Linked DNA regions of Homo sapiens: region 1 is linked to region 2. The links are contacts of gene promoters, found by promoter capture Hi-C in human tissues and cell types (Jung and others, 2019). All regions are on one chromosome and are shown on one strand. The core of a region is centred on a gene start or on the middle of the fragment in contact, and the rest is flanking DNA. Distances in the headings are between cores, read along the strand shown. Region 1 overlaps VRK3 (VRK serine/threonine kinase 3). Region 2 holds the start of SIGLEC11 (sialic acid binding Ig like lectin 11).

What was found. Contacts are between HindIII fragments. The study calls those that stand out against the background at their distance.
Region 1: a contact is called between a fragment that was not itself captured here and the fragment with the promoter of SIGLEC11 in region 2, in 1 of the 25 tissues and cell types used here (dorsolateral prefrontal cortex).

The regions. Positions count from the first base shown.
Region 1 is chr19:50,006,198-50,011,303 of GRCh38, reverse strand. VRK3 (VRK serine/threonine kinase 3) reads left to right here. Exons shown (of 15, transcript NM_016440.4): 4 at 1,919-2,068; 5 at 3,478-3,735. Among named protein-coding and RNA genes, the nearest start is that of VRK3, 17 kb to the left of the region's middle. The HindIII fragment of the contact is 3,791 bases long and covers 1,347-5,106 here.
Region 2 is chr19:49,959,649-49,964,475 of GRCh38, reverse strand. SIGLEC11 (sialic acid binding Ig like lectin 11) reads left to right here and starts at 3,304. Exons shown (of 11, transcript NM_052884.3): 1 at 3,304-3,470; 2 at 3,541-3,924; 3 at 4,055-4,339; 4 at 4,656-4,703. The coding sequence starts at 3,395. The HindIII fragment of the contact is 12,874 bases long and covers 1-4,827 here.

The DNA.
Region 1 (5,106 bases), core at 1,993-4,492, 47 kb before region 2:
AAATGTCCTTTTAAAATATAGAGCTAAGTGGTAGGAAAGTAAGGGGAGTCCATGGAGATGAGAAACAACAGGAAAACAGAGACCACAGGGCTAAGCAAGTGTTACATAGGTGTTATTTGTCCTGGGGCTGTTTGCTGATGGCCTTGAGCCTGTGTTTTATTGGGGTGCAGGAGACAAAGCTTAGGGCCTTAGCAGTACAGGAGTTGCAATTGGAAATTTCCTCTCAAATCTGGGGCTCCTCAGTGGGTGAACTACAACAAAAGCAATTGTTCCACAGAAAATTGGTGGAGACATTTGTCGCCTTGGTGGTGGGTAAATAAAGGAGGAATGTCTTCTTTGAGAATTCCCTTTTTTGTTTTTGTTTTTTGTTTTTTGTTTTTGTTTTTGTTTTGAGACACAGTCTCACTCTGTCATCCAGGCTAGAGTGCAGTGGTGTAATCTTGGCTCACTGCAACCTCCACCTCCCGTGTTCAAGCGATTCTCCTGCCTCAGCTTCTCAAGTAGCTGGGTTTACAGGCACCTGCCACCACACCCAGCTAATTCTTATATTTTTAGTAGGGACGGGGTTTCACCATGTTGGACAGGCTGGCCTCAAACTCCTGACCTCAGGCGATCCACCCGCCCTGGCCTCCCAAAGTGCTGGGATTACAGGCATGAGCCACCACGCCCAGCCTTCTTGGAGAGTTCCTAACCAAGAATTCACGTTCTCACCAGTTTGGGGCCAGAATTCACACTGATCTGTGTGGTCCCCCAAAATGCAAGCTGAACATTTAACTTAAAGTGGTGAGATGTGGGTACCACTCCCTGCCTGATATAAACAAATCTTCTCTTGGAAAACATCCTTTAAAGACAAACATCAGGGAATTACCACAGGTCAACATCCAAGGATCATGAGTACCAGTCTCTGTTGATTTACAAAGACACCAGGAAATAAGCTAGCTGGAGAGTCAGCAGAAACAACAAACTGCAGAATCGGACCTGCCAAGACCACAGACTTTAGAATTAATAGATGAGAATGTTTACAAAGCATGCTTAATACATTTAAATAAATAAAATAACAAATTGAAAGTATAATGAAGGAATAGGTTAAAGTTGCACAGGCAAATAAGAGAAGGAACCAAATAAAAACTCTAATGATTGTATGTGTGTATATGTATATGTGTGTGTCTATATATGTATATATGTGTATGTGTGTATATATATACACACAATCATTGTATGTGTGTATATGTGTGTGTGTGTGTATATATATATAAAATAATTATTGTAATCAGAAACTCGGTGGGTGGTTTAAACAGCAGACTAGACATAGCTGGGAGAATTAGTTAACTGGAAGATAGATTTTAAGAAATTACATGGAAGAGGCCAGGCATGGTGGCTCATGCCTGTAATCCCAGCACTTTGGAAGGCTGAGGCTGGCCGATCACTTGAGGTCAGGAGTTCAAAACCAGTCTGGCCAACATGGTGAAACCCCATCTCTACTAAAACTATAAAAATTAGCAACATTACAGGCATGTTGGTGCATGCCTGTAATCCTAGCTACTTGGGAGGCTGAGGCAGGAGAATTGCTTGAACCCAGGAGGCAGAGGTTGCAGTGAGCCAAGATTGCACCACTGCACTCCAGCCTGGGCAACAGAGTGAGACTCCATCTCAAATATACATACATATAAAGACATTATGTGGAAAGGACACAGAGTGGCAAAGTGCTGGAAGATACAAGAGAGGCAAAGACCTAAGAAGGAGAGAACAACTAAAAGGAACAGTTTGCTCATATATTTACATAATAGAAGAAGCAAGAATTGGTGTTGAGGGCCAAAGAGAACAGCATAGCTGAGTATAACCTCAGGGCTCCCAGTCCAATGGTGCCTGCAGAGGGGCCTTTGTAACTCCAGTCTGCATTTTGTCTGCCTTTCTTTAGGCTCAAAGAGAGGGCTGAACTCCAGTTTTGAAACCTCTCCTAAGAAAGTGAAATGGTCCAGCACCGTCACCTCTCCCCGATTATCCCTCTTCTCAGATGGTGACAGTTCTGAGTCTGAAGATACTCTGAGTTCCTCTGAGAGATCCAAAGGTAAGAGTTAAGGTCTATCTGGCCTGACTCTTAAGTGGAGCAAAGTTAGGTCATCTGATGATCTTTGGGACAAAACTGCCACAGCCCCGGCTCAAACATCATCCATCCCTGCCTGGACTCTGACTCCAGCAGCTTCCCCAGCCTCCCATCTCCCCCTCCAGTCTGCCTCTATATGGCCCCAGATGGGTCTTTCAGCACCTAGAGCTGCCCCGGCCCCTCCCTGCACACAGACCCCTACTGTTCCTGGTGCCCTCAGACCAAGCTCTTCAGTCTGGTATCTGTGTGGCCTGGTTCCTGCTTTAGCCCTCAACACAGTCTTTGCCCAGAAAACACTTTTGGGGATTAACCTTGGTCTTTGCTAAGCCTGTTCCCTCAGCCCAGGGCACTCTCACCTTCGTTCTTGGCCTTGTGTACTGCCACTCAGCCGATACTGGTCTCTAGGAAGCTTCTCTTGAGTGCCATAGGCTCGCATCCAGACCTCCTCATCGTCCGCCAGAGCCTCTTTCCAGCCTCTTTGGCGCCCCCCCGTGCCTGCTGCAGCCTTCATTGGAGCGCATGTCAGTCTAGGCTCCACATCCCTTTCGGCCTCACTTTCTGGGCTGGGGGCCCTTTGCAGGTAGGGACCCAGCACAATTAGTGTATATACCCTCTGCCCAGCCAGTGCCCAGGACACGGGAGGCCTGAGGACTATGTTCCTTCTCCTGTTCACTGAGCCCCTGGATCTGAAGCCACAGCCACAGTGGCAGTGTGAGGCGTCCCCTTTGCTCCTCATTATCCTCTGGGCCCAGAGGCCTCTTGCCATTACTTGCCTTTAGGGGATGGTGGGTGGGAGGAACAGAGTAAGCGATGTCTTTTCCTGTGTCCAAGTCTGTCTCCCACCACACCCACCCCATTCTCTTGCCAGGCTAGGAGCCCTTCTAGGGCAGGGCTTTGGTCTAACAAATTTTTTGGCCCTTTTCTATCTCAGGACTGAGTCCTTTTTCAGGATGTTTTTGGGTAAATGTCTAGAATGTCCTTTATTCCCTGGCAAACTTCTCCTCATCCAACAAGATCCAACTCTAACATCCCTTCCTCCAGGAAGCCTACCCTGACTTCTCCAGGCAGGATCTCTTTCTCTTTTGGGCCCTAATATCTGTCTGTACTGCCCTGTCTCAGACCCGCATCTGACTAGCTGTGTCTAGAGCAGACTTGCCCACCAAACTGGGCACTCCTGAGGGAAGGATGCAGGTCCGACTCCTATCTGGTGCCCCAACATCATCACACAAAGGCCTGACTCATAGAAGGTCCCAGGAAATGTTTGTTGAATGAACGAATTTGTAAAGGAACAGTATTTTGCGTGCTGTTTCACTCCCCATCTAACTTTTCTCTCCTGGATGGTGCTTTTACTTTATTCTTACATCCTCCTGCAGGCTCCGGGAGCAGACCCCCAACCCCCAAAAGCAGCCCTCAGAAGACCAGGAAGAGCCCTCAGGTGACCAGGGGTAGCCCTCAGAAGACCAGCTGTAGCCCTCAGAAGACCAGGCAGAGCCCTCAGACGCTGAAGCGGAGCCGAGTGACCACCTCACTTGAAGCTTTGCCCACAGGGACAGTGCTGACAGACAAGAGTGGGCGACAGTGGAAGCTGAAGTCCTTCCAGACCAGGGACAACCAGGGCATTCTCTATGAAGGTACACTCTGTCCATGGGCGGCCAGGGACTGGGTCGTCTCAGCACCAGGACAGTGGGAGGGGACCCCGTTCTGAGAATGGGAATGGAAGCCACATCCCTAGCTGCAGACCTGTCGCTAGGCAACTTTCTCTTAGACCTTGGACTCTATACCTACCCACCTGCAGGGCCGGGCAATAGTGGGAATGAGTGCAGCAGGCTGGAGTAAGGCAGTTGGGAGTGGCGGGGACTGCGGCCAGTTGGCATGTGCCCTGTGTGAAGTGTGCCCCTCCTCACCCCACCTGCTACCTGCTATTGTCACGTGGGAGTGCAGGCCCAGGGGCTGCATGTTAAGGATGGTTGTTCTGGCCAGTGTGCAGAGAGAGGATGGATCCCCACGTAAAATTTGGTTCAAACATCGAGACTGATGATGTCACACACACACCAAGAGGATGTGAGAGGTTTATTGCTTACATAATAGGGGTCTCTGTGGAGAGCAGGCAGGCCTCCCACACAGATCTGAGATGCCTTGAGAGTGAGGAAAGGAGACTGGTCAGGTGTTTCATCGTGCTTGGGGGTGGGGCTGGGCTCAGGGTTTCTGCACAGGGGCCAACACCATGCATGGTTTGAGTCTCGTGGATGCACACCCCAAAGGAGGGAGCACCCAAGCTTGCTCATCCGCTCACCCAGGTGTGGGATGGAAGGGGAGGAGGGAGGCACAAGGCTGAAAAGCTCAGACTCTGTTACAATGAGGAAAATAATTATGGCAGTAGTATTAGTATTAACTGTAATAAATATTGAGTGCTTCTGCAAGGCCAGGCCTGTTCTAAGCACTTTACATGGGTTTTTCTTTTCCTTTCTTTTCTTTTTGGAACTTTTTAATTGAGATAAAACTCACATAAAAGTTATTCTTTTATTGGCCAGGCGCGGTGGCTCACGCCTGTAATCCCAGCACTTTGGGAGGCCGAGACAGGCGGATCACGAGGTCAGGAGATCGAGACCATCCTGGCTAACGCGGTGAAACCCTGTCTCTACTAAAAATACAAAAAATTAGCCGGGTGTGGTGGCTGGCACCTGTAGTCCCAGCTACTTGGGAGGCTGAGGCAGGAGAATGGCGTGAACCCGGGAGGCAGAGCTTGCAGTGAGCCGAGGTTGCACCACTGCACTCCATCCTGGGTGACAGAGCGAGACTCCGTCTCAAAAAAAAAAATTATTCAGTGAGACTCCATGTCAAACAAAAAGTTATTCTTTTATTATTATTATTTATTATTTTTTATTTTTTTGAGAGAGAGTCTTGCTCTGTCACCCAGGCTGGAGTGCAGTGGCACGATCTCGGCTTTTAACAACCTCCACCTCCTAGGTTCAAGCGATTCTCCTGCCTCAGCCTCTCAAGTA
Region 2 (4,827 bases), core at 2,055-4,554:
AGTGAGCCAAGATCGTGCCACTGCACTCCAGCCTGGATGAAAGAGCGAGATGCAAGACTCTGTCTCAAAAAAAAAAAACATCAAAAATCAATCCTTGGCCAGGCGCAGTGGCTCATGCCTGTAATCCCAGCACCTTGGGAGGCCAGGGTAGGTGGATCACTTGAGGTAAGGAGTTCGAGACCAGCCTGGCCAACATGGTGAAAATCCATCTCTATTAAAAATACAAAAATTAGGCCAGGCGCAGTGGGTCACGACTGTAATCCCAACACTTTGGGAGGCCGGGGCGGGAGGATCACGAGGTCAGGAGTTCAAGACCAGCCTGACCAGCATGGTGAAACGTCATCTCTACTAAAAATACAAAAAACAAGCCAGGCATGGTGGCGGGCACCTGTAGTCCCAGCTACTCGGGAGGCTGAGGCAGGAGAATTGCTTGAACCTGGCAGGTGGAGGTTGCAGTGAGCCGAGGTCATGCTACTGCACTCCAGCCTGGGCGACAGAGTGAGACTCTGTCTCAAAAAAAAAAAAAAAAATTCAACTCAATATGGATCAAAGACTTAAATCTAAGTCCTGAAACCAAAAAATTCTAGAAGATAACCTAGGAAAAACTCTTCAGGACATTGGTCTAGGCAGCGGTATGTATACCATTGTCATGGAATATTACTCAGCCATAAAAAAAGAATGAAATAATATCTTTTGCAGCAACTCGGACAGAGCTGGAGGCCATATTTCTAAGTGAAATAACTCAGGAATGAAAAATCAAATGCCATTATGTTCTCACTTTTAAGTGGGAGCTAAGCTATGGATACATAAAGGCATACAGAGATCATGGACTATGATCTCATGGAGGCAGAGAGTAGAATAATAGTTATCGGAACCCTAGAAGGATGCATGGGTGAGTAGGTGGGGAATGAAGAGGTCTGTCTAACAAATATACGGTTATATAGAAGGAATAGTTCTTATGTTTAATAGCAGAGTAGGGTGACTATAGTTAACAGTAACATATTGTAGTGGTGGCTCATGCCTGTAATCCCAACAATTTGGGAGGCTGAGACAGGCAGATCGCTTGAGCCTAGGAGTTTGAGACCAGCCTGATCAACATGGTAAAACTCCATCTCTATCAAAAACAAAGTATAAAAATTAAGTGGTAGTGCACACCTGTAGTCCCAGCTGCTCGGGAGGCTGAAGTGGGAGGATTGCTTGAGCTTGGGGAGGTCAAAGCTGCAGTGAGCCGTGATCTCACCACTGCACTCCAGCCTGGGTGACAGACAGACCCTGTCTTTTTTTTCTTTTTTTTCTTTTTTTTTGAGATGGAGTCTCTCTCTGTTGCCCAGGCTGGAGTGCAGTGGTGCAATCTCAGCTCACTGCAAGCTCCACCTCCCGGGTTCACGCCATTCTCCCACCTCAGCCTCCTGAGTAGCTGGGACTGTAGGCACGTGCCACCATGCCCAGCTAATTTTTTGTATTTTTAATAGAGATGGGGTTTCACCGTGTTAGCCAGGATGGTCTTGATCTCCTGACCTTGTGATCCACCCGCCTTGGCCTCCCAAAGTGCTGGGATTACAGGCGTGAGCCACAGTGCCCAGCCTGAGTGACCCTGTCTTAAAAAATAATAATAACGTATTGTATTTTTCAAAATAACTAGAAAAGATGATTTGAAATGTTCCCAACAATAGAAATAATAAATGTTTGAGGTGACAGATATTCAAATACCCTGACTTGATTATACCATATTCTATGCATGGCACAAAATATCACATATACCCCATAAATATGTACAAATATCACATATTAATAAAAATACTTTTTAAAAATCAACAAGGCAGGGCTGGGCGCAGTGGCTCACGCCTGTAATCCCAGGATGTTGGGACTCCGAGGCAGGTGGATCACCTGAGGTCAGAAGTTCAAGATCAGCCTAGTCAACATGGTGAAACCCCATCTCTACTAAATATACAAAAAATTAGCTGGGCATGGTGGTGGGCACCAGTAATCCCAGCTACTCAGGGGGCTGAGGCAGGAGAATCGCTTGAACCTGAGAGGTGGAGGTTTTAGTGAGCCGAGATCATGCCATTGTGCTCCAGCCTGGGCAACAAGAGCAAAACTTCATCTAAAAAAAAAAAAATCAACAAGCCAGACACAGTGGCTCACGCCTACAATGCCAGCATTTTGGGAGGCTGAGGCAGGCAGATCACCTGAGGTCAGGAGTTCGAGACTAGGCTGCTCAACATGATGAAACCCCATCTCTACTAAAAATACAAAAAATTATCCGGGCATGGTGGTGGGTGGGTGCCTGTAGTCCCAGCTACTCGGGAGGCTGAGGCAGCAGAATCACTTGACCTTGGGAGGCGGAGGTTGCAGTGAGCCAAGATTGCACCACTGCCCTCCAGCCTGGGTGACAGAGTGAGACTGTCTCAAAAATAAAAATAAAATGGCCAGGCGCAGTGGCTTATGCCTGTAATCCCAGCACTTTGGGAGGCCAAGGTGGGCGGATCACAAGGTCAGGAGATCGAGACCATCCTGGCTAACACGCTAAAACCCTGTCTCTACTAAAAATACAAGAAAAAAATTAGCCGGGCGTTGGGGTGGACGCCTGTAGTCCCAGCTACTCAGGAGGCTGAGGCAGGAGAATGGTGTGAACCCGGGAGGTGGAGCTTGCAGTGAGCTGAGATCCCACCACTGCACTGTAGCCTGGGGAACAGAGCGAGACTCCATCTCAAAAAAATAATAATAATAAAATAAAAATAAATAAATAAAAATCAACAAAGGAGAAAGGTTCATAGGACAGGATCCAGAAGAGACCATATGTGGGATTCCAGTTGTCCTTTCCCAGTGAAGTCATACAGAAAGCGCTTAATGCTTGAAGCAAAGATGAGTGACAACATACAGCAAGTATTGCCACCCAGGGAAGCTCACCTGAGCCTCGGCATTCAGAGTTTTTACTGGGGGTTGGTCACGTAGATGCAGCTGACTGCCTGTGTGGCTGACCTAGTTTTTACCCTCTGTGGAGATACAGCAATAATACGTGGTGCAAAGCCCCCACCATAAATCACTGTGTTCTTGTAGACTCTTCCAGTGTCTCATGGCCCCCTGGAGAATGAATGAATGAATGAGACTCTGCATCCATCACCTCACCTGCAGCCGTGACTCACCTGTGTCCCCTGACAGTCCCCTCCTAGCACTGCCCACCTCCGAGGCTGGCCAGGGTGGCTCCTTCCTGGTTTGGGGCTGGTCCTCATGCCCTCTGCCCTGCTGCTTCCCCTGTGAAAGGAGAAGTTGGGAAGCGAGCTTTCAGGACATAGCGGTTCCCGAGGCTCCTCCTCTGTGGATGGTCACTGCCCCTCCACCAGGCTTCCTGCTGGAGGAGTTTCCTTCCCAGCCAGGCCGGCCCAGAAGCCAGATGGTCCCGGGACAGGCCCAGCCCCAGAGCCCAGAGATGCTGCTGCTGCCCCTGCTGCTGCCCGTGCTGGGGGCGGGTGAGTGGGTCGGTGGCTGGGGGTCCCAGGCAGGGGCTGGGGCTGCCGCTGAGCCTCTGCATCTCCCCAGGGTCCCTGAACAAGGATCCCAGTTACAGTCTTCAAGTGCAGAGGCAGGTGCCGGTGCCGGAGGGCCTGTGTGTCATCGTGTCTTGCAACCTCTCCTACCCCCGGGATGGCTGGGACGAGTCTACTGCTGCTTATGGCTACTGGTTCAAAGGACGGACCAGCCCAAAGACGGGTGCTCCTGTGGCCACTAACAACCAGAGTCGAGAGGTGGAAATGAGCACCCGGGACCGATTCCAGCTCACTGGGGATCCCGGCAAAGGGAGCTGCTCCTTGGTGATCAGAGACGCGCAGAGGGAGGATGAGGCATGGTACTTCTTTCGGGTGGAGAGAGGAAGCCGTGTGAGACATAGTTTCCTGAGCAATGCGTTCTTTCTAAAAGTAACAGGTATGGAATGGGGTGGGAACCCCTGCCTGTCACACTGGGGAGGGACCCTGGGGACAGGCTATGGGCTGAGCAGAGAGGGCTCTCAGGGACCCCTGCAGCACAAGAATCTCCCACCCGGTCTCTGTCCCAGCCCTGACTAAGAAGCCTGATGTCTACATCCCCGAGACCCTGGAGCCCGGGCAGCCGGTGACGGTCATCTGTGTGTTTAACTGGGCTTTCAAGAAATGTCCAGCCCCTTCTTTCTCCTGGACGGGGGCTGCCCTCTCCCCTAGAAGAACCAGACCAAGCACCTCCCACTTCTCAGTGCTCAGCTTCACGCCCAGCCCCCAGGACCACGACACCGACCTCACCTGCCATGTGGACTTCTCCAGAAAGGGTGTGAGCGCACAGAGGACCGTCCGACTCCGTGTGGCCTGTGAGTGTGGCCTGGGAGGGTGGGGCGTGCAGACAGCCCCGGTGGGTGGGGAGGTGGAGGAGCCCAGCGGGACAGTGAGTGGCTCCCAGCTCAGGAGCATCCAGGGAGAGGAAGCTGTGGGGTCCCAGGATGCCGGCTCAGCCCTGGGAGGGGGATGGGAATGGCGTCTGATCCTCTGTCCACATGTGTGAGCCCTGGAGCTGGTTGTCACTTGTCCATCCTGGGATGTTCCCACTTTCTTTTCCCTGAGGGAGTTTTTTCCAGGTGTGAGGAACAAATTGTCCCTCCCTGAAGCCAGCTCACAATCTTGTTGCAGATGCCCCCAAAGACCTTATTATCAGCATTTCACATGACAACACGTCAGGTACTGAGGGCCTTCGGGCTGGGGCTGGGCCAGTCCTCTTTAGGGATGAAAAGGCTTCAGGGGGGTGAGGGGATGTGGTCCTCTTTGCAGCCCCCCCTCCCACCCATTCTCTCTCTCCACCCCC